4 separate regions of the Homo sapiens genome follow, and regions 2, 3 and 4 are each linked to region 1. Evidence: promoter capture Hi-C in human tissues and cell types (Jung and others, 2019). All regions are on one chromosome and are shown on one strand. Each heading gives the region's core, a stretch centred on a gene start or on the middle of the fragment in contact. The rest is flanking DNA. Distances are from core to core; before and after follow the strand shown.

The links. Contacts are between HindIII fragments. The study calls those that stand out against the background at their distance.
Region 2: a fragment that was not itself captured here is called in contact with the fragment with the promoter of MXD4 in region 1 in 1 of the 25 tissues and cell types used here (dorsolateral prefrontal cortex).
Region 3: a fragment that was not itself captured here is called in contact with the fragment with the promoter of MXD4 in region 1 in 1 of the 25 tissues and cell types used here (dorsolateral prefrontal cortex).
Region 4: a contact is called between a fragment that was not itself captured here and the fragment with the promoter of MXD4 in region 1, in 4 of the 25 tissues and cell types used here (H1 embryonic stem cells, IMR-90 fibroblasts, dorsolateral prefrontal cortex and 1 more).

The regions. Positions count from the first base shown.
Region 1 is chr4:2,257,962-2,264,681 of GRCh38, reverse strand. MXD4 (MAX dimerization protein 4) reads left to right here and starts at 2,573. Exons shown (of 6, transcript NM_006454.3): 1 at 2,573-2,765; 2 at 2,858-2,957; 3 at 6,671-6,700. The coding sequence starts at 2,702. RefSeq lists enhancers at 901-1,560, 1,561-2,222, 3,454-4,046 and silencers at 1,854-2,693, 2,744-2,803, 2,894-3,283, 3,294-3,353. The HindIII fragment of the contact is 28,165 bases long and covers 1-6,720 here.
Region 2 is chr4:2,580,803-2,586,823 of GRCh38, reverse strand. All of the region lies in intron 1 of FAM193A (family with sequence similarity 193 member A), which reads right to left. Among named protein-coding and RNA genes, the nearest start is that of FAM193A, 47 kb to the right of the region's middle. The HindIII fragment of the contact is 8,650 bases long and covers 1-6,021 here.
Region 3 is chr4:2,536,214-2,542,725 of GRCh38, reverse strand. FAM193A (family with sequence similarity 193 member A) reads right to left here and starts at 6,079. Exons shown (of 21, transcript NM_001366318.2): 1 at 5,556-6,079. The coding sequence starts at 5,810. RefSeq lists silencers at 5,076-5,125, 4,870-5,164, 5,166-5,325, 5,376-5,665, 5,746-5,845 and 2 more. The HindIII fragment of the contact is 7,680 bases long and covers 598-6,512 here.
Region 4 is chr4:2,628,651-2,635,146 of GRCh38, reverse strand. It overlaps FAM193A (family with sequence similarity 193 member A), which reads right to left. Exons shown (of 21, transcript NM_001366318.2): 5 at 3,978-4,212. Among named protein-coding and RNA genes, the nearest start is that of FAM193A, 95 kb to the right of the region's middle. RefSeq lists enhancers at 3,654-4,153, 4,154-4,655. The HindIII fragment of the contact is 4,088 bases long and covers 1-3,579 here.

The sequences.
Region 1 (6,720 bases), core at 1,324-3,823:
CTCTCCTGGCAGGGCTCCAGGCCCACCTGCAGCCATCTGGGCCAGGCCAACATCACCTCCAGGCCTCTCCTGGCTGCTCCCTCCCCTTCCCTCTCCTCCTGCCATTGCTGGCCGATGCCTCCAGTACCTCCCTCCCTAGCTGCAGCTCAGCCCTCAGTCATCCATCGCCTCCTGCAGCTTCTCCTCCCAACCCCAACTCCTTCCTGCTCCCCCAGGCAGTGGTGCCCACACTACCAGGCAAGGTTTGAGCCCAGGGACACCAGGGAAGTGCTTGGTCCTCAGTGTGGTGGGGAGGTGAGGGTGAGTCCTTAAATGGCCTAAATTGAGGCTAAAAATCTCTTAGACTGGGGTAGCATGCAGGTGCCTCCCCATAGACACACCTGCGCACCTGTGCTGCCCACTGCCACACAGAACAAATCTCTTGGCCCATGGCAGGAAGGGGGCGTGCACTATGCCCAGCAGGTGCACTTGTACTAGGCCAGGTGTCCGCTTTAGCTGTCGGCAGCAACTCACCCAGTGGCCAAAGCAGGGATGGGGCAACTTTGCAAAATGCTCATCCCCAAGTGGAGAGCTGGGTCCCCAGAGCCCAAACACACCCTGCTCCTCCCCAGACTTGGGCACCTTTCTTTACCATGCACAGCTCTGAGCAGCCATGCAGACAAACCTGGAGGGCCTCAGTGCTGAGTTCTTGTGAGGGGCTCTGCCTTGGGCCCTGGCGTCACTGTGGGGCGGGAACAGGAAGGGCCCCTGCTAACATCAAGGGGGTTGTCTCAATGTCCATGCAGGGCTGTCTCATAGCAGTGTCCGAGTTCCCCACTGGGTCCTGCAGGGCTCTGTGGGAACACACATTATTCTGAAGCCCACACCACAGGCTTACACCCAGCAGGACCAGCCAGGCCAGGAGGCTCTGGCCTCTGCATTCCTATAGCCCTGAGCCGTGTGTGGCAGCACTAATCTCCATTCTGCTGAGATTTCTGGGAGACCCCAGCAAATCCCTGAGCGTCTAGTCCCATGTCCTGATCTGCAAGCCGGGCATGCAAAACACAGGGAGATGCACACGAAGCTTTCACAGGAGTCCTGGTGCTGAGGTTTTGCATTTTTTGTTCAGTTTCATTGCCAGCAGCAGCCCCTGTGTCCCACTGAGTACTTCTGGAGGGGTCCAGCCACCTTATGCCTCCACACTCTCCAGCCTGCGGGGCCTGGCCCTTGGCACATCCAGGCCACCAACCTCAAAAATCAAATCAGTGAGATGGGTCGGGCGAGGTGGCTCACACCTGTAATCCCAGAACTTTGGGAGGCCGAGGCGGGCGGATCACGAGGTCAGGAGATCCAGACCATCCATGGTGAAACCCCATCTCTACTAAAAATACAAAAATTAGCTGGGCGTGGTGGCACGCGCCTGTAGTCCCAGCTACTTGGGAGGCTGAGGCAGGGGAATCGCTTGAACCCGGGAGGCGGAGGTTGCAGTGAACTGACATCACGCCACTGCATTCCAGCCTGGGCAACAGAGCCGTCTCAAAAAAAAAAAAAAAAAAAATCTGCGAGAGGGTGGGGGGTGCCGAGGCCAGTCTGGGCCAGCCTTAGGGTCAGGGGTCACTAGGGAGACCCGCCAGCTGGGATTTGATGAAGGGTTCACTCCCGTCCCCACTTAGGGCGTCCTCGGCCAGAGGTGGCCAGCGCCTGCCTCTAGGAACGTCCCTGCCCCTCAGGCCAGACACAGAGCATGCAGCCCCCCACTCCGGGGAGCCTCTCGACTCTGGCCGCACGTCTGTGTCCCTTCCCCAGACCTGGGCCCTCCCTCAGCTCCGGCGTCCACTGGGCGATCTGAGGAGCCCGCCCGCTCTGGGCCTGTTTCCCCACTGACACCCTCAGAGACGCCTGGCTCTTAGGATCAGAGCGTCTGCGTCCCTCTCCGAGGTCCCGGCCCTTCCCGGGGCCACTCTGCGCCCGGCGGGGAGGGGAGTCGTTCACGGCCCCACGCAAGACCCCCGGGCAGAGCGCGAGGCCTCGTCCCCCCACGCAGCCACTGCTTTCGTCGCGCTCAGACCCGGCGGCCCGGCCCGGCCCGGCGCACGCCCCGGAGCGCCCTGCTTCGCTCTCGTAGCGGAGACGCTCCTGCGTCCTAACGGGCCCCCAGGACGGCGGGCGGTCCCCGCGCGCTGCGCTTCCTCTCGGCAACGCGTCCGGCTGCGGCGCCCTCATTGGCCGCGCGCCCCGCCACCGGCCATTGGCTCGCAGTGCCTGTTTTACATAGGCCGCTCTGGCCAATCGGCGCGCGGCGCCTACTTAACATGCACGGCGGCCGCCAGTCAGCTAGCGCGGGGGCCGGGCCACCACGTGCTGTTGCTAAGCTCGGGCTTCTAAATTGTTACTAGCGCGGCCGGCCTATCCCAGCCCAGCTCTGCATCTGTCAACATTCTCGGCCCGGCCCGAGGCGCTCGACCCGTCCCCATTGGCCCCAGCCCGGCCCGGCGCCCGCCCCCGGGGCGCGAACGCCGCCTCCCATTGGCTCTGCGGGCCGCCGCTCTCCCTTATGTGTCAATTTGAGGGCCTGAGGCGGAGGGTGGCGGCCGAGCGCCGGAGTCCGCGGAGTCTGGAAGTGCGGCGGCCGGGCGCGCGGGGTGGGCGGCGAGCGGAGCCGGCCGGAGCGGGCCGGGCAGCGGCCGCCGCCGTCCCGGGGCGGACGGGCGCGGGCGGGAGGATGGAGCTGAACTCCCTGCTGATCCTGCTGGAGGCGGCCGAGTACCTGGAGCGCAGGGATCGAGGTAGCGCTCGCACCCCATTGTGCGCCCGCGGCGGTGGGCGGGCGGCGGGGCCGTGCCGGGCGGGGGCCGCTGACCGCGCCGTGTGTCCGCAGAGGCCGAGCACGGCTACGCCTCGGTGCTGCCCTTCGACGGCGACTTCGCCAGGGAGAAAACAAAGGCGGCCGGCCTGGTGCGCAAGGCCCCGAACAACAGGTACCGCCCCCCGCTCCCGACCCCGCCCGGCCCGGTCCGAACCCCCGCCCCCGCCCGGAGCGTGCTCTCCGGGCCCCGATTCCCGGCCCGCGGCCCTCAGCGCCGCCGCCGCGCGCCCCGGCGGCCAGCCTGGAGGAGGAGGCGCGCAGGCCGCGGCCGCAGCCCCGCCCGGCCGGCCCCGCCCTCGCCGTCGCCATCTTCCCGCGGCCGCGCCTCCCGGGCCGCTCGCGTAAACAGTGCCACGCGTACAGCGCCCGCCGCCGGGGTCCGCTCCCGCGCCCGCTCCCCGCCCCCGAGTTGTTCTGGACTTTTCCAGGCGGTAGAAAAGTTGTCAGCGGGCGCTGGCCGGTGCCCCGTGGGTCTGGGGAAACAGGCTCAGCCAGGGTCTGCGGGGGCTGCCGGCCCTAACCCCTTCTCTCCGCGGGTGGGTGGGCGGCCTCCTTTCGACTGGCTCTGCCAGCCGAACTCTGCTGCTCGGCCACCTTCCCCCGCCCCCAGGAGCCTAGACAGAGAAGCGAGTGGAGGCGCTGTCCTGGGCCCTCACTCCTCCCAGGGTGCCCACCGCTTCTGCCCAGCCTCCTGACACAGCGAAACTCCAGCCACCAGTATGGGGGTCCTCTTTTTTAAGACAGAGGCCTTTTAAGGGGGCGGGAGGAGGGGGCAGGCTGCAGGGCAGGGGCCCCATGAAGTCGTTACTACGGGTGCCAGCTGCGCCCTCCATACCTTGACCTCGTGTTCAGGCAGCAGAAGCCCTGAAGCTGGGGTGCGTACAGGTCCCCCGCGTGGGGAGTGGGGACCCTGGGCCGGGGCTCCCCGGGGATTTCCACCCTCCTGGCTGCTGTGAGGACCATAGCACACCTGGTCCTGTCTGGGCCCACCTTGGCCCAGCCCTTTTGTGTGAGCAGGCTGGGAGCTGCGTTTGTAGGGGGCTTCAGAGCCCCAGGGCATGGCTCATTCCTGTGGTCCACCTGTTCTAGGGAATCCGAAAGGCTGGTGTAGGGACCCATTTCTGTGGCATCCTGAGCCAGGCGAGGAATTGGTTGAGTCTCCAGCTGCCCTGGCTGGGACCCGTCCCTGAGTCCCAGCCCCTGGTCCCCTACTGGGGACAGTTTGGGGAAGGACAGGAGTGTGACGAGGGAACCATTGCCTCAGGCCTCCTCAGTGAGCAAGCCCGGCCCCCGCTGCCGCTTCTCTCCAAACCAAGTCCCTGACCCGTGGAGAACTCTGGGGCGTGAGCTGGGGCTCCCCCAGCATGGAGAATCCAAAGCTGACAACCAGCGTCCTGGCCAAGGCTGCCCGAACACTGCCTCTATGCTGAGCGTTTCACACATGCAGCCAGTTCATCTTCACCCCAGGCTCAGAGAGGTGATGTGATTTTTATCTCTATGGCCAAGGAAACTGAGGCAAGGAGAGGTTTGGTTACTTGCCTGCCACTCACCCATCTCTGATGACGCCTGTTCCTGAGATGGGGTCCCAGCTGTCCACATTCTGCTGGGACAGAGACCATGGGGGCACTGGTGAGGGAGACAGAGGGCTCCCCAACTCTGGTGCATCTCCCCTGGCTCCTCTGGGCCGAGCCCCGCTCCCCCGGGGCCTGAGGCAGCCCAGGGCTGGCGGCTTGGCCCCTTCCTCGGGTGGGCAGCACTGCCCTGGAGGTTTCCTCAGCCAGCCCAGACAAGTAGCTGGGCGGAGCAGGGGGCCAGAGGATCTCTGAGCCCCTGACTTGTCCCCACCTGTGAGGCTTCCATGCTCTGCCAAGGTGAGGGAGGGGACATGGCACAGTGAGGCTGGGGCAAGGGTAGGGAGTGGGGCCGGAGGACAGTGTCAGGGTTGAGGGAGGCGGCAGAGCACTGGGGCCAGCCTGCAGGGGGGTCCATTCTGTGGGAAGTGTGCTTGTCTCCTGGGGTCACGGGAATGCTGGGAACGCACTTGGCCTGGCCTCAGCGGGGACAGGTCCCACCTCTCCTGAGGGATAGAGTGCTCCTGGGACCCATGTTGCAAACATCCCCCTCGATGGACCCCAAGGGTCTCTGGGCCCAGGAGGAGCTGCAAGAGGGGCCCTGGCTGCTGGAGGAGGGCCCCCTGCCTCCAGGGTGGGGTCCAGCCCCGTGCCACCCTTCAAGGGGTAGGCAGGTAGGCTTTTATGTTGAAGGGCACCTGCTGACCCCGACCTCCCTCTTGACTACAGACCCACGTGGCCAGGCTGCAGTTTGGGCTGAGGACAGAGAGTACGGCTCATTCCTGCGGCCTGCCTATTCTGGGGAAGCAGAAACGCTGGCGTAGGGGCCTATCTCTGTGAGGCCAGTGAGGAGCATATGGCTGTGGCCTCTGCTGGCCCTGGTCGGCCCTGGCTGGCCCTGGCAGTGATTCGGAGGCTCCTTGTCCAGCCCATGTGACCAACAGGCCCTCCCGGACCCTGAGACCTGGGTCTGGAGGCTCTGCTGAGGCTACACAAGGAGGCCCAGGGCCTGTTGGTGCAGCGGGTGGGAGGGGCAGGCCCTTGGCCTGAGTGGTTGGGACAGGAGACGCCAGATCCCAAGTTCCTGAAGCAGGCAGTGGTCAGCAAGAAGCTTCAGGAAGGAGCCAGGTCCTGAGGGCAGGGAGAGGCCTCAGGGCTGGGTCTGGAGGTGCCCCGAGGCAGTCTGAGCTCTCTGCCCACCTGTGCAGCGGCATCCTGGGAGGCCCGGGAGCCCTGGCTGGCCTGTGGGGTCCTGCCTGGACACGGAAGGTGGCCTGGAGCTGGGAGCGAGGTCCCCCTGCCTCGTTATCCTCCAGGCAGATGCTGTGGCACACCCTGTGGTGCTGGGAATTGTGTGCCCGCGTCTGAATGGGCAAGACAGGTGAGCAGCAGGTGGGGCCACTGTCCCCAGAGAAGCTGAGCCCGGGCCTCCAGGGCAGCCCATCCTGCTAGCACAGCCCCTGAGGGAAGTGGGAGGGCTGGCCTCAGTGTCCCCCTGTGCCTACTGGCCTGGGAAGCATCCACATCTCAGAAGCCCCCTCATGGGCTGACCTGGCTGACGCTGCTGTGTCCCTGGTCCCCATTGGTAAGGTGGGCTGTGGTCACGCAGGTGTGTGAGCCCGAGAGAGTGGTGGTGTCAGGACAGGACCACCTGTGTCCTGAGGGCCTGGTCTCTGGGCTCCATCTCCACCTGCTGTTTGTCCCGGGTGCTAGGCTGCTTTGGCTCCAAGGACACAGCTGGCCTCAGGGATTGGGGAGCAGGGAAGGCAGGTGGCTGGTGGGGGTCAGCGCCAGGACCTGTTGCTGCTCCCTGGGCCTCCCCCATCCCTCTGGAAGGGGGCCTAGGTCCTCCTGTCAGCCAGATTCACCACGGGCCTTGCTAGGTGGGCTGGTGGCCCTGGGCGCCCTGGACCTGCCTGCAGCTCTGGGCCTCCCTGTAAGCAAGGCTGGCCCCTGCTGCTGCTTCTCACCAAACCAAGTCCCTGACCCATGGAGAACTCCAGGGCGTGAGCTGCGGCTCCCCCGGCACGGAGTACCCAAAGCTGACAACCAGCGCCCACCCTTAGCATGTGGTTCCCCCCACCCTGGGTGGGCAACTGCTCACCTGCCCCAGGCCTCACTGCTCTGGGCCATTCCAGGACCCAGACACAGCCAGCCACTGTCTGCAGGTCCTGGCCCCCTAGGAGAGCACTGCTCTCTGTGCCCTGGTGGGCAGGCAGAAGAGTGAGCTCTGTCTTTCTGTCTTTCTAAACAGGTCTTCACACAACGAGCTAGAAAAGCACAGGTAAGTGACCCCCCAGTTCC
Region 2 (6,021 bases), core at 1,246-3,745, 320 kb before region 1:
AAATAAGCCAGGCATAGTGGCATGCACCTGTAGTCCCAGCCACTCAGGAGGCTGAGGTGGGAAGATTGCTTGAGCCCAGGAGGTTGAGGCTACAATGAGCCATCCTCCTGCCACTGCATTCCAGCCTGGGCAACAGAGCAAGACCCTGTTCTCAACAACAACAAATGCTATAATAATTCAGAGAGTGTGGTACTGGCCGCTCAAGGATAGAAAAGTAGACGAAGGAATATAGAATCAAGGTATGATACACGGACACTAAATTTATAACCAAGGTATGAAACACATACACTAAATTTATAACCAAGATGGCATTCTACAATACTATGGAAAGAATGGCCTTTTAAATTGAAGTTAATACAGAACAACTAGATACCCAAACCGGGGGGAAAAAAAAACTGGGCCCCTATCTCACACCATACACAAAAATCAATTCTTTAATTATAGACCTAAATGTGAAAGATGATGGATAATATCCTCATGACCTTGGGTAAAGGGAAACATTTTCAAGACACCAAAAGCACTAAAGCATAAAGGAAAAGATCAACAGATTCAACTATATATATATATATTTTTTTTTTTGAGACGGAGTTTTTGCTCTTGTTGCCCAGGCTGGAGTGCAATGGCATCATCTCAGGTCACTGCAACCTCTCCCTCCTGGGTTCAAGTGATTCTCCTGCCTCAGATTCCCCAGTAGCTAGGATTACTGGCATGCACCACCACGCCTGGCTAATTTTGTCTTTTTAGTAGAGATGGGGTTTCTCTATGTTGATCAGGCTTGTCATGAACTCCCAACCTCAAGTGATCCACCAGCTTCGGCCTCCCAAAGTGCTGAGATTACAGGCATGAGCCACCCCACCCAGCCCAGATTCAACTATTTAAAAATTATTTATTTTTTGAGATGCAGTCTCACTCTGCCACCCAGGCTGGTGTGCAGTAGCACAATCTTGGCTCACTGCAACCTCCACCTCCCAGGTTCAAGCAATTATCCCTGCCTCAGCCTCCCAAGCAGCTAGGACTACAGGTGCCCGCCACCACACCCAGCTAATTTCTGTATTTTTTAGTAAAGACGGGGTTTTGCCATGTTGGCCAGGCTCGTCTTGAACGCCTGACCTCAGGTGATCCGCCCACTTTGGCCTCCCCAAAGGGCTAGGATTACAGGCATGAACCACCATGCCCAGCCTAAAATTTAAAACTTCTATTTGATAAACATTAAGAAAATGAAAAAAATGACAAAAAAAAGTGAAAAATGAGAAAAATAGGAAAAAGATATACAACTTGACTGAAAAAATTGGGCAAAAGACTTGAACGGGTTCTTCACAACAGATGACCCAAATGGTCCATAGACATAAACATATGTCACAGATATCACAGATAAATTAAATCATAGTACCACCATTTACCCACCAGAGAGGCTGAAACAAAAAATTAGGACAAAACCCACGCTCAGCCAAAAACATGAAACAATGGGAACTCTCAAGCACTGCTGGTAGAGTGAAAATAGGTATAACCACTTTGGGAAATAGGCATTACATGAAGACTGTGAAAATACATGTAGACTATGACCCAGTAATTCCTTTTCTGGATATCTATCTTTCCTCATATTAAGTCCTGTATGCACCAAAATACATGTACAAGAGTATTCATGCCAGTCCCAAACTGGAAATAACCCATAAACTGTAGAATGAATGAACAGTCATCTATATGGTGAAATACTATACAGGAATTAAAATGGATAAACCATAGCTAAGTTCAAAACAAATAAATCTTTCAAATATTGTTGGGTGAGACAAGTTATATACCGTATTCAGTATGGATGCTTCCATTTATATAAGGTACAAAAACAGGCAAAACTATAGTGTTGGGATGTTTAGTTTTGGTTTGTTTTTTTTTTCCTTTTTTTGAGACAGAGTCTTGCTCTGTCGCCAGGCTGGAGTGCAGTGGCACGGTCTCGGCTCACTGCAACCTCCGTCACCTGGGTTGAAGCAATTCTCCTGCCTCAGCCTCCTGAGTAGCTGGGACTACAGGCACACACCACCACGCCCAGCTAATTTTTGTATTTTTAGTAAAGATGGGGTTTCACTATGTTGGCCAGGATGGTCTCGATTTCTTGACCTCATGATCTGCCCACCTCGGCCTCCCAAAGTGCTGGGATTACAGGCTTGAGCCACCGCACCCTGCCATTTAGTATGTTTAACGAAAGGAAAAGAAAGGAAACTGTAATCGAGTAGTAGCCTTTAGCAGGCTTTTGGAGTCCTGGTAATGTTCTATTTCCTTATCTGAATGGTGCTTATACCAGGGGTCAAATTAATTTGCAAACCTGTACATTACTTTTATGCATTTTTATAGTATTTAACAGTAAGAAATATTCTTTAGAGATGGGTGTTTTTTTTTTTTTTTTGAGACGGAATCTCACTCTGTCGCCCAGGCTGGAGTGCAGTGGCACAATCTTCACTCACTGCAACCTCTGCCTCCCAGGTTCAAGCGATTCTCCTGCTTAGCCTCCTGAGTAGCTGGGATTACAGGTGCGAGCCACCAAGCACCGCTAATTTTTTTAAGAAATGTTGTTTAAAGAACATTGTTAAAGGACAAATGAACAAGGTGATTCCATAGGGAGAGATCTCTCAATAAATGGTACACAACTGGATATGAATATGGAGTGGGGGACACCTCCAACTTCACCTCACACCATACCCAAAATTAAGTTGAAATAGATCACAGACCTATATATAACAGCTAAAATTATAAAACCTCTAGAAGAAAACAAAGAAGAAGGTTTTCCCAACCTTGGAGTAGACAAAGATCTCTTGAGACCCCAAAAGCACTAATCATTAAAAAAATTGGTAAACTGGACTTACACCAAAAAACTTCTGTTCCTCAAGACATGGCTGCTTCTGTCTTCTGCCCTAGGATGAAGAGACCTGGGACAGCATAATGCTCAACCTTACAGTGCAAAACAGCCAGACTAACTTCATATCCATGACTGTTTCTGAACCTGCTGGAGAGCTGTGGTTACAGAACAAACACTGGCCCATAATCTTAAGTGCCTTCAGGGAAAGAAAACAAATACACTCACCTGGGGTAGACACAATCAGACACACTAGTAAGAAGAGTTCAGCAAGAATAAAAGACAAATTGCGAAAGGCTGAGTACAGGCTGTCAGGACAATTTCTGGCAACTGCAGAAACTGGGAAAGCCTGCATTACTTTGCAGGCTCTTTCTCCGTGGCACTCATGAGGCAATCACTGAAAAGATCTGAAAGAGCCCGAAGAAGCAAAGACAGTAGCGCAGAACTCAGGGAGGGGACCAGAAGCCAGGAAGGAGGGGAAAGAAATTCCACTCAAATCCTTCCTCTCAATCTCCACTCAGAAACAAAAGTCCTAATTTGGGGGCAGCAGGGGGAAGGGAAGAGAGGGACAGGAGAGACCTAGTCCTGCAAAAGGGGCAGGATTACACACTGAGTCCAAAATTATAGCCAGGGAAAAGGCAGAAGAACTGAGACAGCTGCACCTCTGAAATCCAGGGTTACCAGACATGTCTAAAACTGAGACTTGGCCGGGCGCAGTGGCTCACGCCTATGATCCCAGCACTTTGGAAGGCCGAGGCAGGCAAATCACCTGAGGTCAGGAGTTTGGCACCAGCTTGGCCAATGTGGTCAAAGACAGACAGGGTTCTGTCTCTACTGAAAATACAATAATTGGCTGGGCATGGTGGCAGGTGCCTGCAGCTACTTTGGAGGCTGAGGCAGGAGAATCGCTTGAACCCGGGAGGTGGAGGTTGCAGTGAGCTGAGATCGTGCCACTGCACTCCAGCCTGGGAGACAAGAGCAAAACTCCGTCTCAAAAAATAACAACAACAAAAAACTGAGCCTTAACCAGAAAAGGAGGCAGCATCTCACTACCGCTACACACTTCCAAGTCAAAAAGCTTCAAACAACAGCCAACAGCAGAATACAACTGGGAGAAGAATATGCAAAGAAACCTCCTGTGAAATACAACAAAGAAAGAAGACTTAAGACAGAATTTCAAACACTGCCATGGTAAAACACTCCTCATCCTAGATCCAAGCCGCCTCTACAAACATTCAAAGCCTGTGCTGCATAACACACAGCAAATAATAAACTGAGGCCAACTCTAAACAGCAGAAGAAATAACGGTTGAGAATTTTCCAAAATTAATGACAAACACCAAACTGCAGATCCAAGAAGCACAGAGAACGTTAAAAAACAACAACAAAAAAACACCTGGTCCTATCACTTCTTTACTTCTGAAAACAAAAGACAACTGGATACACAACTAATTAGGACAAAAGTCATGCGCAACTAAGACTATGAAAATAAGAAAGAAAGAGAGAGAGGAGGGAAGGAGAAGGAAGGAAGGAAATAAACACTGACCAAGTACGATGGGGCTCGTGCCTGTAATCCCAGCACTTGTTGGGGTGAGAGGATTGCTTGAACCCAGGAGTTCAGGAGTAGCCTGGGCAACATAGCAAGACCTCATCTCTACAAAAAAGTTTAAAAAATTAGACCACACTTGTGGTCTCAGCTACTTGGGAGGCTGAGGTGGAGAACACTTGAGCCTGGGAGGTCGAAGCTGCAGTGAGCTGTGATCATGTCACTGCACTTCAGCCTGGGCAAAAGAGCAAGACCTTGTCTCGAAAAGAAAGGGGGCTGGAGGAGGAGAGGAGAGACTGAAAGCAGCTAGTGATAAAAGAAACATTACACATGGAAGAACAAAAACAATTACAGCAGGATTCTTGTGAGAAGCCATAAAAACCAGAAGAGAGTAATTTCTCTAAAATCTTGAAAGAAAAAAACAGCTTTTAACTACGACTTCCATACCCAGAAAAAGAATCTTTTAAAAGTAAAGGAGAAGAGCCAGGTGCGGTGGCTCACGCCTGTAATCCCAGCACTTTGGGAGGCCGAGGCAGGCAGATCACGAGGTCAGGAGACTGAGACCATCCTGGCTAACATGGCGAAACCCTGTCTCTACTAAAAATACAAAAAATTAGCCGTGCATGGTGGCGGGGGCCTGTAGTCCCAGCTACTTGGGAGGCTGAGGCGGGAGAATGGTGTGAACCCAGGAAACGGAGCCTGCAGTGAGCCTAGATCACGCCACTGCACTCCAGCCCGGGCTGGAGCAAGACAGAGCGAGACTCCGTCTCAAAAAAATAAAAACAAATAAATAAAATAAAGGAGAAAGACTTTCTCAAACAAAAACAGGAAATTTATTGCCAGCATACCTAACCCACATAAAATGTTGAAGTATTTCAGAAGCTGGGCATGGTGGCTCACGCCTGTAATCTCAGCACTTTGGGAGGCCCAGACAGGCGGATTGCCTGAGCTCAGGAGTCGAGATCAGCCTGGGCAACATGGTGAAACCCCATCTGTACTAAAATACAAAAAAATCAGCCAGGCGTGGTGGCATGCACCTGTAATCCCAGCTACTCGGGAGGCTGAGGCAGGAGAATTACTTGGACCTGGGAGGCGGAGGTTGCAGTGAGCCAAGATTGTGCCCCTGCATTCCAGCCTGGGTTACAGAGTGAGACTCCACCTCCAAAAAAAAAAAAAAAGAAAGAAAGAAAATATTTCAGGAAGAGAGAATATGGTATCAGAACAAAACCTAGATCTACAAAAGAAATGGCAATCCCAAAAATGGAATAAAATAAATCAGTGGTTTTTTTTTTGTTGTTGTTTTTTGAGACGGAGTCTTGCTCTATCGCCCAGGGTGGAGTGCAGTGGCGCAATCTCAGCTCACTGCAACCTCCGCCTCCCGGGTTCACGCCATTCTCCTGCCTCAGCCTCCCGAGTAGCTGGGACTACAGGTGCCCGCCACCACACCCGGCTAATTTTTTGTATTTTTAGTAGAGACGGGGTTTCACCGTGTTAGCCAGGATGGTCTAGATCTCCTGACCTTGTGATCTGCCCGCCTCGGCCTCCCAAAGTGCTGGGATTACAGGCGTGAGCCCGGCCAAATCAGTGGGTTTTAAAAAACTTATAAAGAACAGAGGTTTATTTGGCTTACA
Region 3 (6,512 bases), core at 3,188-5,687, 280 kb before region 1:
AGGACTCAGAAAGCCTCCCTGGGAACCATAGGGCCAGAAACCACTCACTGTTTCTGGTTGATACTGTTTTGGGTGCCATTTTGCACCATACAAGGTACTCCAAAAAGCTCACCATCTGTGGGGAAACAATTCAGAGGCTTCAGAATTACATTAAGACTTTCTGTGATCTGTGTCAAGAATATTTTACCCCAGTTACCATAAAGAGTTTCTTTAATGAACAATTATTAAAATACTTACAAAGAAACTTAAAAACTAAAGACAGCTTTAAAAGCTTAAAATATCGGCCAGGTGCAGTGGCTCACGCCTGTAATTCCAGCACTTTTGGAGGCCCAGGCAGGTAGATAGATCACTTGAGGTCAGGAGTTCGAGACCAGCTTGGCCAACAAGGTGAAACCCCGTCTCTACTAAAAATACAAAAAATGGCCGGGCGTGGTTGCTCACGCCTGTAATCCCAGCACTTTGGGAGGCCAAGGCATGTGGATCACAAGGTCAGGAGTTCTAGACCAACATGGTGAAGCCCCGTCTCTACTAAAAATACAAAAATTACCCAAGTGTGGTGGCACATGCCTGTAATCCCAGCTACTCAGGAGGCTGAGGCAAAAGAATCACTTGAACCCAGGAGGCGGAGGTTGCAGTGAGCTAAGATCACCCCACTGTACGCCAGCTGGGGTGACGCAGTGAGACTCTGTCTTGAAAAAAAAAAAAAAATTTGCCAGGTGTGGTGGTGCACTCCTGTAGTCTCAGCTACTCGGGAGGCTGAGGCAGGAGAATCACTTGAACTCAGGAGGAATCACTTGAACTCAGGAGGCAGAAGTTGCAGTGAGCCGAGATGGCGCCACTGCACTCCAGCCTGGGCGACAGAGCAAGACTCTGTCTCAAAAATAAAATAAAATACCATAAAAGATGGTGGCATATTTTAAAAGCTTAAAATACAGTAAAAGCAACTGTCAAGGTGCAGCACACAACTCAATAGTACACAATAGAGAGGCTGCAGTGGGTCACACCCGTAATCCCAGCACTTTGGGAGGCCAAGGTGGGTGGATTACAAGGTCAAGAAAGAGAAACCATCCTAGCCAACATGGTGAAACCCTGTCTCTACTAAAAATACAAAAATTAGCTGGGCGTGGTGGCACGCGCCTGTAGTCCCAGCTACTCAGGAGGCTGAGGCAGGAGAATCGCTTGAACCCAGGAGGTGGAGGTTGCAGTGAGTCAAGATCACGCCACTGCTCTCCAGCCTGGTGACAGAGCGAGACTCTGTCTCAAAAAAAAAAAAAAAAAAGTACACAATGAACTAATTCTGTGGACTATAACCCAGATTTTATTAATGAGATTACATGGAACAGAAAAGATCAGAAAAGTATTAAAATATTTTGTTTGTTTTTTGTTATTTTTTGAGACAGAGTTTCGCTTTTGTTGCCCAGGCTGGAGTGCAATGGCACAATCTCAGCTCATGACAATCTCCACCTCCCAGGTTCAAGCAATTCTCCTGCCTCAGCCTCCAGAGTAGCTGGCATGACAATCTCCACCTCCCAGGTTCAAGCGATTCTCCTGCCTCAGCCTCCTGAGTAGCTAGGATTACAGGCATGCGCCACCACACCCAGTTAATTTTGTATTTTTAGTAGAGACAGGGTTTCTCCATGTTTCTCAGGCTGGTCTCAAACTCCTGACCTCAGCTGATCCTCCTGCCTCGGCTTCCCAAAGTGCTAGGATTATAGGTGTCAGCCACTGCGCCTGCCCTTTTTTTTTTTTTTTTGAGACGGATTTTGAGACACAGTCTTGCACTGTCGCCCAGGCTAGAGTGTAGTGATGTGATCTGGGCTCACTGCAACCTCCGTCTCCCAGGTTCAAGTGATTCTCCAGCCTCAGCGTCCGGAGTAGCTGGGATTACAGGCATCCACCACTATTCCCGGCTATTCTTTGTATTTTTAGTAGAGATGGGGTTTCATCACATTGGCCAGGCTGGTCTGGAACTCCTAACCTCAGGTGATCCACCTGCCTCAGCCTCCCAAAGTGCTGGGATTACAGGTGTGAGCCACCGCACTCGGCCTGTTTTTTCGTTTTTGTTCGTTTGTTTTTTTGAGACGGAGTCTCACTCTGTCACCCAGGCTGGAGTGCAGTGGCGCCATCTCGGCTCACTGCAAGCTCAGCCTCCTGGGTTCATGCCATTCTCCTGCCTCAGCCTCCGGAGTAGCTGGGACTACAGGGCGCCCGCCACCACGCCTGGCTAATTTTTTGGGGTTTGTTTGTTTGTTTGTTTTGAGACGGAGTCTCGCTCTGTCGCCCAGGCTGGAGTGCAGTGGCGCCATCTCGGCTCACTGCAAGCTCCGCCTCCCAGGTTCACACTATTCTCCTGCCTCAGCCTCCGGAGTAGCTGGGACTACAGGTGCCCGCCACCACGCCCGGCTAATTTTTTGTATTTTTACTAGAGACGGGTTTCACTGTGTTAGCCAGGATGGTCTCGATCTCCTGACCTCGTGATCCGCCTGCCTCGGCCTCCCACAGTGCTGGGATTACAGGCGTGAGCCACTGCGCCCGGCCATTTTTTGTATTTTTAGCAGAGATGAGGTCTCACCGTGTCAACAAGGATGGGATTTTTTTTTTTTTTTTGAGACAGAGTTTCACTCTTGTTGCCCAGGCAGTAGTGCAATGGTTAGATCTCAGCTCACTGCAACCTACATCTCCCAGGTTCAAGCAATTCTCCTGCCTCAGTCTCCCGAGTAGCTGGGATTACAAGTGCATACCACCACACCTGGCTAATTTTTGTATTTTTAGTAGAGACGGGGTTTCACCATCTCTGGGGTTTCATCATCTGTCAACCAGGCTGGTTTCGAACTCCTGACCTCAGGTGATCCACCCACCTCGGCCTCCCGAAGTGCTGGAATTACAGGCATGAGCCACGGTGCCCGGCCCTAAAATGTTTTGTGAAATTTTTGTGTTTATGTGTATGTTTCCTAGATCTTAACGGATTTTATTTCTTGGAGTGGGTCATAAGAGTGGGTCATGGTCAAAAACCTTGATAGGCCAGGTGCAGTGGCTCAGGCCTGTAATCCCAGCACTTTGGGAGGCAGAGATGGGAGGATCACTTGAGGTCAAGAGTTCAAGACAAGCCTGGGTAACATAGTGAGACCCTGTATCTATATTAAAAGAACAAATTAGCCAGGCATGGTGGCACATACCTAGAGGCCTAGCTACATGGAAGGACTGCTTAGCCCAGAAATTGGAGGTTACAGTGAGCTATGACCAGGCAACTGTACTCTAGCCTATGCAACAGAGAGAGACCGTGTCTCTTTTAAAACAACAAAACCCTGATGCATACTAGTTTAACAGAATATCACAGTCCTGTCAAAAATAATACTCAGGTGGGCACAGTGGCAAGGGTCTGTGCCCTTAGTAATTAGTAAAACTAAGATGAGAGGGATCCCTTGAGCCCACAAGCTCAAGGCCAGCCTAGGCAACATAGCAAGACCCTATCTTAATAATAATAGGCATACAGTTATCTGATTTTGAATAACGCGACAAAAATAATAAAGGCAGGGCTGGGCACGGTGGCTCACGCCTGTAATTCCAGGACTTTGAGAGGCCAAAGCAGGTGGATCAGGAGGTCAGGACTTCAAGACCAGCCTGCCCAACATAGTGAATCCCTGTCTCTACTAAAAATACAAAAAAAATTAGCCAGGCATGGTGGCAGGTACCTGTAGTCCCAGCTACTTGAGAGGGTTAGGCAGGAGAATCGCTTGAACCCGGGAGACAGAGGTTACGGTGCGCCAAGATCGCACCACTGCACTCCAGCCTGGGCGACAGAGTGAGACTCTGTCTCAAAAAAAAATAAATAAAAATAATAAAGTTATATTTTACCTAAGTATTGCAAAGCAAATGTAAATTATTAAAACTTGAAATGGTATGAAAGGCTAAAACTAAGAATTTTATTGTGCCACCAACTGGTTTTTATTGAATCAATAGAAATGAATATATTCCACATCCAGCTACACCAAAAATTATCAATATTTTGTGTAAGGATATGCACAGGCAAACCCCCCCCGCCCTCCCCTACCCGACAGCAGCAAACACTGCCCTTAAAAACCCCAAAGATCCAAACGCTCAAGACTCATCCTTGATCCCAAGAACTGCGGCCTGTTTTGATCTCCAGGATACTGGATGAGGGCAATCTCGGGAGACTGAAGTCCAGGACTACAGCCCAAGACCCTAATGTAACAATATAATAATAATAAAAACGGCCGGGCGCGGTGGCTCACACCTGTAATCCCAGCACTTTGGGACGCCAAGGTGGGCGGATCACCTGAGATCACGAGTTCGAGACCAGCCTGGCCAACATGGTGAAACCCTGTCTCTACAAAAATTAGCCGGGCATGGTGGCGCATGCCTGTAGTCCCAGCTACTCGAGAGGCTGAGGCAGGAGAATCGCTTGAACCCGGGAGGCGGAGGTTACAGTGAGCCAAGATCGCGCCATTATTGCACTCCAGCCTGGGCGACAGAGCGAGACTCCGTTCTCAAAAGAAAAAAAAAAAAAGAACAATTTGTGTCATGATTTAGCACAAAAATACTCCCAACGCTTCTTTCATTTTTTAATTGCAATATCTTTAAAACTACATAATTTAAGAGTTTAAATAACATTATAAGAACGCAACTTTTCAAAAAAAATCTATTCTCTTTCAGCAGACAATGGGATAACTGGAAATGACTGCGCCAATTGCATACCCACTTATAAATAGTGTACCCTCTGAAATGTTGTGACCAACGGTTGAATAAAAGTGGCAGGAATCCATAATTGGTAGGTGCAATGTGTGCTAGCTGTCTTCATAAACAAAACTGAAAAAAATCACCTTTCAAATTCCTTAAGTTCGAACCCTAAATACATACCTGAGTAACCAAACCACTAAATACCCCTGAAAACTTAACAAAGCGGGGGAGGAGGGGCCAGGGCTGCCAGCTCCAGGTGGCTGTCAGGTAGATTTCAAATAACCACATAGGAGGACCAAAGGAAAACTTCCGGGAGGCCCTTCTCAATCATCACGCGCACGGAATAACGAAGGTGGCCAGAGAAACATTTCAAAGCCCTGGGAGCGAAAGGGCAGCTTTGCTCACTCCCGGAATCGCAGTCGCTCTGGAACCGCCGCAGCGGGCGAGGCGCCACGACAGAAGCCCGGGCCTCGCGGGTATCACCCGCCGGGTCCAGCGGAAGGCGAAGCGCCGTGCGCGGAGCTGCACCCCGGAGACGTCCCCGCCCGTTGAGGGGCTGCTCCAGCCTGCGGACCAGCCCGTCGCCGTGAGCGGCGGCCCCGGTGTAGCCCTCCCGCCGCCTCTGCTCAGGTTCTCCTCTCAAGAGGCTGACAGAGGCCGCGTCACGCCGAGCACGGCCCACCTGCCGCCCTGCCCCGGGACCTCGGCAAGCGCAGCGCCGCAGGACCCGTTATCCGCCCGCCCGCAGCATCCCGCTCCCAGGCCCGGGGCCGACAGCGGGAGGCCGAGCTCCGCCAAGGCGCGAGGGAACGGCAACCGCGTACCGCCATCGACCCCTGCCCGCTGCCGCCGCTTACCTCGAAGTAGCCTCCGGGGGCGGCGCCGCCCGCGCTCGCGCCCGCGCCGAGAGGCCCGTTGGCCGCCGCCGCGCCGCCCACCAGGCCTGCCGCGCTGCCCGGGGCCGCCAGGCCCGCGGCCTGGGAACCGCGCAGCGCCGCCGCCGGGCCGGCCTTGCCGCTGCTCGCGCCGCCGTTACCCCCGCCCGAGCCGCCGCCGCCGCCCCGCTTGTTCTTCCGGCGCTTGGCCCCGCGCTTGGCGTCGGCTGGGCTCATGGCGGGCGGGGAGAGGGGCGCAGAGCGGGCGCGGGGGCCGCGGGCGGCGGCGGAGGGCGGGGAAGGCGGGGAGGCTGAGGCGGCCGCGGCGGCGGGCGCTCCGGCCAGCCGGGGGGCGCTGCGCGGGGTCGCGTCCGGGTCGGGGAGGGCTGGGGCGGGCGGGAGCTGCGGGGCAGGCCGCTGGGCGGGAGGAACCGCGAGTCCACAGTCCCGGCGCCGCGGCTGACCAGAGTTAGAGTCCAATATGGCGGACACAAGGGGAAAGGGATCCCAGTTTACGTCGGGGGAGGGGGAAGGAGCAGCGGGGAGGGGGAGGGGTGTGGGCCCCCACCCCCCACCCCCACCCCGCCTTACTCCGCCCCCCGGCTCTGCTTTTCCCTTTGCTTGCCCACCCCCTCCTGCCGTTAACGTGCCTCGGCGCGCAGGACACGCCGGGAACTGAAGTCCGTGCTGCCCGTGCAGCAGCTGGGGGTACCCGGGGGTGGACCACGATTCCCGTCAGGCCTTGCGAGGCCGAGGGCCCGGGCGCTGGGAGGAGCTGGGGCCAGGGAGCTGGATGCGGCGGTGATGTCACCGCCTCGCTCGTCGCCGCAGGTCCCGCCCGCGCCGCGCGGCCTTCTGGGCGTTGTGGTCGGGCGTAGGGCTAGGCCGGCAGGAGGCCGCGCCGCCGCCCGCGAGGCAAACTACACGGCTGGCGGCAGG
Region 4 (6,496 bases), core at 286-2,785, 370 kb before region 1:
CATTAGTCGGTAAGAAATTACTATTACCGTCAGTCTTCATGGATGTGACAATGGAACTGTGGCTACAGAAGATAATGGATGACTATTTTTAGAGACACTTATTGGAATATTCTAAGACAAAAAGCACATTGTCTGGGACCCATACTAAAATACTGCATCAAAAAGAGGGAAGAGAAAGTGGAAGAAAAAGAAGGCATAATGAAGTCAGAGTGGCAAAATGCTGATTAACTGCGCATCTGGGTAAGGAGTACATAGATTCATTGTAGTCTCTACCCAGAATCCAGAATTACACATTATAACATCTCACAGACCATTTTCAACAAAGTCCTGTGTTTTGTGTTTGAGATCACTTTTTCTTTGATGTTCTGTAGCTGTCATTATACTATAACCAGAGAAGGATTTTTCAACATCTTACTTGGGAAATCTGATACGTTTCCTTGCTGAACACTAGTATTTTTCAGTAATTCTGAGAATTTCTCAGCTATCATCTCTAAAAAAAGTTTTTGTTTCTAGTTTTGATATTTTTTCAAATCTGAATTATCATTCTTTAGAGTATTAATCCTTAACTCCCAATTTCAAACTTTTACAAAGCTTCTTTAAGCACAGTTAACAAAGTTACTCTATATTCTTTTTTGAAAATTTAAATATCTTTGTTATGTGATTCTGTCTACTGCTTCTGCTGGCTTTTAACTGTGCTGTCATGAACCTTGTGTTTTATGACTTTTTTTACTGTGAGCTGCTCATTTGGGGGGATTTTATCTATTCGAATTCTCTGAGGTCAGATTGAAGGTTTCCAGAGGTGATCTGCATGCTGCCTGACTTTACCAGCAATCCTGGACCACTGTAAAGTAACTTCCAGGCTTGGGCTGTTCATACCACACCAACATTTATTCACACTCCAGCTCATGTGGCAGCTGGCTGACAGCTACCAAGTCTCTGGGAAGCTGTACTCCCTGCATCTCCACCCCAAGGCCACGAGAGCTGCAGATCCCTGCTGTCCCTTTCGGTGCTCGGAGTTTCCACTTCAACCTTACTAGTGTCGTCACTTACAGTCCCAGCATTATGTGCAGACCCCATCCTGGGCTAGGTTGTCTCTTGTCTCCCAGGATCAGAAGAAATACCCACAGCAAATGCTGACTTTCAAGCCCATGTATTTCTCAGGATTCCAGCTTTCAATTGGTTTTTCACCACTACGACTTACTCCCTTTCATGCCATCTCAGCCATACACTTTAAAAGATTTCATCTTTTTTTTGAGACGGAGTTTTGCTCTTGTTGCCCAGGCTGGAGTGCAGCGGCCCCATCTCGGCTCACTGCAACCTCCACCTCCCAGGTTCAAGCAATTCTCCTGCCTCAGCCTCCCAAGTAGCTGGGATTATAGGCGCGTGCCACCACGCCAGGCTAATTTTTTGCATTTTTAGTAGAGACGGGGTTTCATCACGTTGGCCAGGCTGGTCTCTAACTCCTGACCTCAGGTGATCCAACCACCTCGGCCTCCCAAAGTGCTGGGATTATAGCCGTAAGCCACCACGCCTGGCTTATTTTTTTATTATCTAGTAAATTCAGTTGTTTCCCTTGGAGGAAGGAATAGTTAAGGGTATCTAGTCTGCTGGACCCCTAGAAATCAATGTGGGTATTTCTATGTGTAAAGGAAGTGAAAAAAGACACTAATCAAACAGCTTCTGGGTGTATGCATTTTTTTCAAGCCACAAGAAATTATTTCTTTTTTATTTTGTTTTGTTTTGTGTGTGAGACAGAGTCTCGCTCTGTTGCCCAGACTGGAGTGCACTGGCACAATCTTGGCTCAATGCAACCTCTGCCTCCCGGGTTCAAGTGATTCTCCTGCCTCAGCCTCCCGAGTAGCTGGGACTACAGGCGCCCGCCACCATGCCCGGCTAATTTTTGTTATTTTTAGTAGAGACGGGGTTTCATCATATTGGCCAGGCTGGTCTTGAACTCCTGACCTCAGGTGATCTGCCTGCCTCGGCCTCCCAAAGTGCTGGAATTACAGGCGTGAGCCACCGCACCCGGCCTCAAGCCACAAGAAATTATTTCTATGTCAACTGCTAGGAATTTGCTCTAATAAATATGGTTCAAATTAATTTTTGTCAGCTTCATAAAACAGTATCCTACAGTAACTATCTGAGGAGGTGCAGACCTCGCCAGCATTTTCTGGAGAGCAGCAACAGCTGCTGTCTTCACTACCAGAGTCTCTCTGGGCACCAGGTTTAGGTGGGCTGGAGAGCATCCTTCTTAACCTGAGCCAGTGTTCTTGTAGAAGACAGAGGAGGGGCTCTGGATTTGAACCTCTGAAGGGCAGGCAGACTCTCAGGTAGAGACGGGGAGGCTGTGCTGCGAGAGATGCCAGAGGAAGGACGAGGTACCAGAAGGAAGCCTGGTGGCACTACCCAGTGGACTCAGACCTTGAAACAGGATAACTGCCCCCCTGCCCCACCCCCACCCCTCACCCTACCCATTCACCTCGCTACCTCTTCTCAGAATAGATACCTCCCCATGGCTTGGCGCAGTGAAGCTTGAGGAAGTCTGTGAACCCCCTGAAATGACTTACAATTACATGTATGTAATTTTTTCTTTTCTTTTTGAGATAGGATCTCACTCTATTCCCAAGCTGGAGTACACTGGCTCACCACAGCCTCAACCCTGAGCTCAAATGATCCTCTTGCCTCACAGCCTCTTGAGTAGCATGCGTCATCACGCCTGGTTAATTTAATTTTAAATTTTTTTGGTATAGGTGGGGTCTCCCCATGTTGCCTAGGCTAGTCTCAAGCTCCTGGGCTCAAGTGATCCTCCCACTTTGGCTTCCCAAAGTGCGAGGATTACAGGTATGAGCCACCACACCCGGGCTGTATGTAAATTTTTCTAAGAGGGTCCATCAACTTGAGAATCAGATAAAGACCAAGGCCAATGCTTACTGTATTTGTTTCAAAATGTAGGTTTACCACTAAGAAAGCACCCAAAACTGATGCTCAGCCCTCTCGCCATGTGATGCCCTGTACCACCTTTGGACTCTGTTCAGAGTCCAAGTCCCCACCTGCAAGAAAGCTCTCACCAGATGTGGCCCCTCAAACTTAGACTTCTCAGCCTTCCTAACCATGAGAAATAAATTCCTTTTCTTTATTAAAAGAAAGAAAGCACCCAAAACTAGCACCCAAATACAGTTAAGTATTATTTAATAATAAAGTTTAAGTGATGAAAAACTCCATAGACTATTAGTAACAGTCAAGGAAGCTTTGAGGGCTTGTCTCTGGTCTCCTTCCAAAGCGTGGGGGCACTGAGGCTGTTGAGGATTGACCGCAGCCTACTTGTAACCATATTTCTATACCATGCTCCTTCCACCCAATGTAGTGATTCCTCTTTTGAGGCAACCGGACCCATCTGTGTGTCTCTTTTGTTAGGACTGTCAGATCCCCATTGGCAAGGATGGTGATAGGGCCTGTCTTGAGACTGCAAGCAGATCCTTAACTCAGTGCTGGCTTGCTGAGTGCATGCATGCCTGCATGAATGAATGAACGCCACTGGGCGGTAAACAAGCTGTTCTCTACAGCCTTCATGCTCTTCATGGGCATTTCACCTAATACCAGCTCTGTCTACAGCAACGAAAGAATGAACAACCTAAGTAAGACACCGGAGATTTCTCTGTCTCCTTATAAAGGCACACATCAGTGCTCCCCTCACACTGCCCCCATGCCTCGTTCCCTGGGCCTCAAGGTCCTCCAAACAGTACTACCATGAGGTGTCACCTGCTTATCAATCCACCCAATGCTTTTATCCAGTGGCAAAGTCCAGAGGAAAGACAAAGAGGAGAGGAAACAGGTCCTCTCCCGTAGAGAAGAGGGGCCTATCACAGTGTGTGGGGGTGTGACAGCGAGGTCGGCACACATGCGTGAGAAGCTTCCTCTTGCCACATGCTTCTCTTCAGCTCATCCAAACAGAAAGAAAAACACGTTTTCTCTCTTACCAGAGTGCCAAGGAAGGTGCTGATGGAGCGTGCGGCCTGGCAGAGGGCGCCGTACTCCTCAAGCAGGAGGGAGATGAACTGGTGCGCTTGCGGCGGGCCCTGCAGGCCAGATGGTGCCTTCACCTTGGCCGCAGCCGACAGCTGCCGGAGCAGGCGGACCTTCATCTCCAGCACATACTCTCGAGCTTGCTGTTCCAGACGCTGGTACAGCTGGTAGGGGTCCCTCTCGCAGAGCCTGCACAGAGAAGAGGGTCACCAGGGCCTGCCCACCAGGGCCCATGGGTGCTCTGATGTCAGTGAGCATCTTTTCTGAAGCCCTTCCACAGGTGGCCACCTCTAGATGACCACACAGTCACCTTCCTCATAACCACCTGTGAGAAGCACAATCACCCCACCTAATGGATGGGGAATCCGGGGCACAGAGTGTCACTAGGGAACAGCAAGTGACATTTATTGAGCTTTCTCTGTACAGCACTGTCCGTGCACGTGCACTAATTCAGTTCGCTGTGTGTGGGTTCAGTGCCTGCTTTACAGAGGGGACATTTTGGCCCACACAGGTTGGGTGACTTGCGTAAACTCACACAGCTGGAAGAGCACGCTACCACTTCTCAGCAGCTGGCCCCAGACAACATGCTCAGACACGAGGCTGGGGACAACTCTTTTAAAGGCTTATATGTTAACAAGTAAAAAGCACTGATCCCAGGAGAGGTGCCACCTGGCTGCAGATCTGCGGCAGCCTGCTCTTTCCTTCTTTCTAGAAGTTCAGTGTACAATCCAAATGGGTTTGTATTAGGCTTATCAAAAGAGGAAACTTTAGACACAGTTTATCTTTTTTTTTTAACAATTATCCCACCAAAAAAGCAATAAAGGTGTGTAAAATAAAATTTGTAGGCTGAAGAGTAGGAAAAAAAAAATACATGCAACATGACTAAGCCACAAATGCAATGAGCATTTTCATGAATTTCAGGCCAAACTTTGGGATAATCCATTATTTTTGACACAAATGTGTATGATAATCCACATTTTTTTTTTTTTTTTGAGATGGAGTCTCACTCTGTCGCCCAGGCTGGAGTGCAATGGTGTGATCTCGGCTCACTGCAAGCTCCACCTCCTGGGTTCACACAGTTCTCCTGCCTCAGCCTCCCGAATAGCTGGGACTACAGGTGCCCGCCACCACGCCCGGCTAATTTTTTGTATTTTTAGTAGAGACGGGGTTTCACCATGTTAGCCAGGATGGTCCCGATCTCCTGACCTTGTGATCCGCCCGCCTTGGCCTCTCAAAGTACTGGGACTTACAGGCGTGAGCCACCGCACCCGGCCGATAATGCACATTTTAAAACGTATTCTACAGTACTGGCATTGCTATGGTTAAATTTAATTGTATTTTAATCCAGGAGCCTCTAGATGGAAACCTAAAACCACTGATGTAATAATAAAAATTCGTCCATAACCCATCACCAGGAGAAACCAGTTTGAGTTCATCACTCTAACAGAAATGAGTTGTAAAATGTATTAAACTACAGCTCCTGGATTTTACATAGTAAATCCTTTCACCTACATACCATATTATGTCAAAAGAAAAGAAAGTTGTCACCTGTTCTATTTTTAAATTGCCATATTACCTAGGCTATAAAAGACAAGTGCCAAGTAAAATCTTGCAATGGAACATGTGAAGCCTTATGGAAAATGTGGATTAAAAAAATAGTGTAGATGGATGGGATTCCTATTATGGTTAGTATATTTCAGACAGACATTAATTTTTTGAGCATGACAACTGTCATTTCAACTACTAGTATAAAAAACTGTCCTCTGAAACAGAATGCATTTCATCTATTAAAATAAAGCCACAGAAGGTCAAATTTTGACAGAGACAACCAAACTTAGAAGCAGACTGGACACCCACGTCACTGTTCTCTTAGCATGTCGGACTTAGATCTCTTTTTTTTTTTTGTCTATTTCTGTATTTTATAAATTTAAGGAAATAACCATGTGATACTTTTGCAAACAGATTTTTTTTTAAGTTATATAAAAAGAAGGCAGCGGGGCAGGGTGCAGTGGCTCACGCCTATAATCCCAGCACTTTGGGAGGCGAGATTGAGACCATCCTGGCTAACACGGTGAAACCCTGTCTCTACTAAAAATACAAAAAATTAGCCGGGCATGGTGTCAGGCGCCTGTAGTCCCAGCTACTCGCGAGGCTGAGGCAGGAGAATGGCATGAACCCGCCAGGCGGAGCTTGCAGTGAGCCAAGACTGCGCCACTGCACTCCACCCTGGGTGACAGAGCGAGACTCCGTCTCAAAAAAAAAAAAAAAAAGAGAGAGACAGCAATATGCTGAAGAAGCTAGGAAGCTCATTCGCTAACTCACACACACATTCAACAGATGCGGGCACATCAACTACACACTGGCTGCTACTCTAAAGTACTGAAGTTGCAATGTTAATAAGCTGTGAAGTCATGGGTTTGACGTGAAGGTTATACATTTTTTCCTAATACTCACTAGGAAACCTAACTTTGTT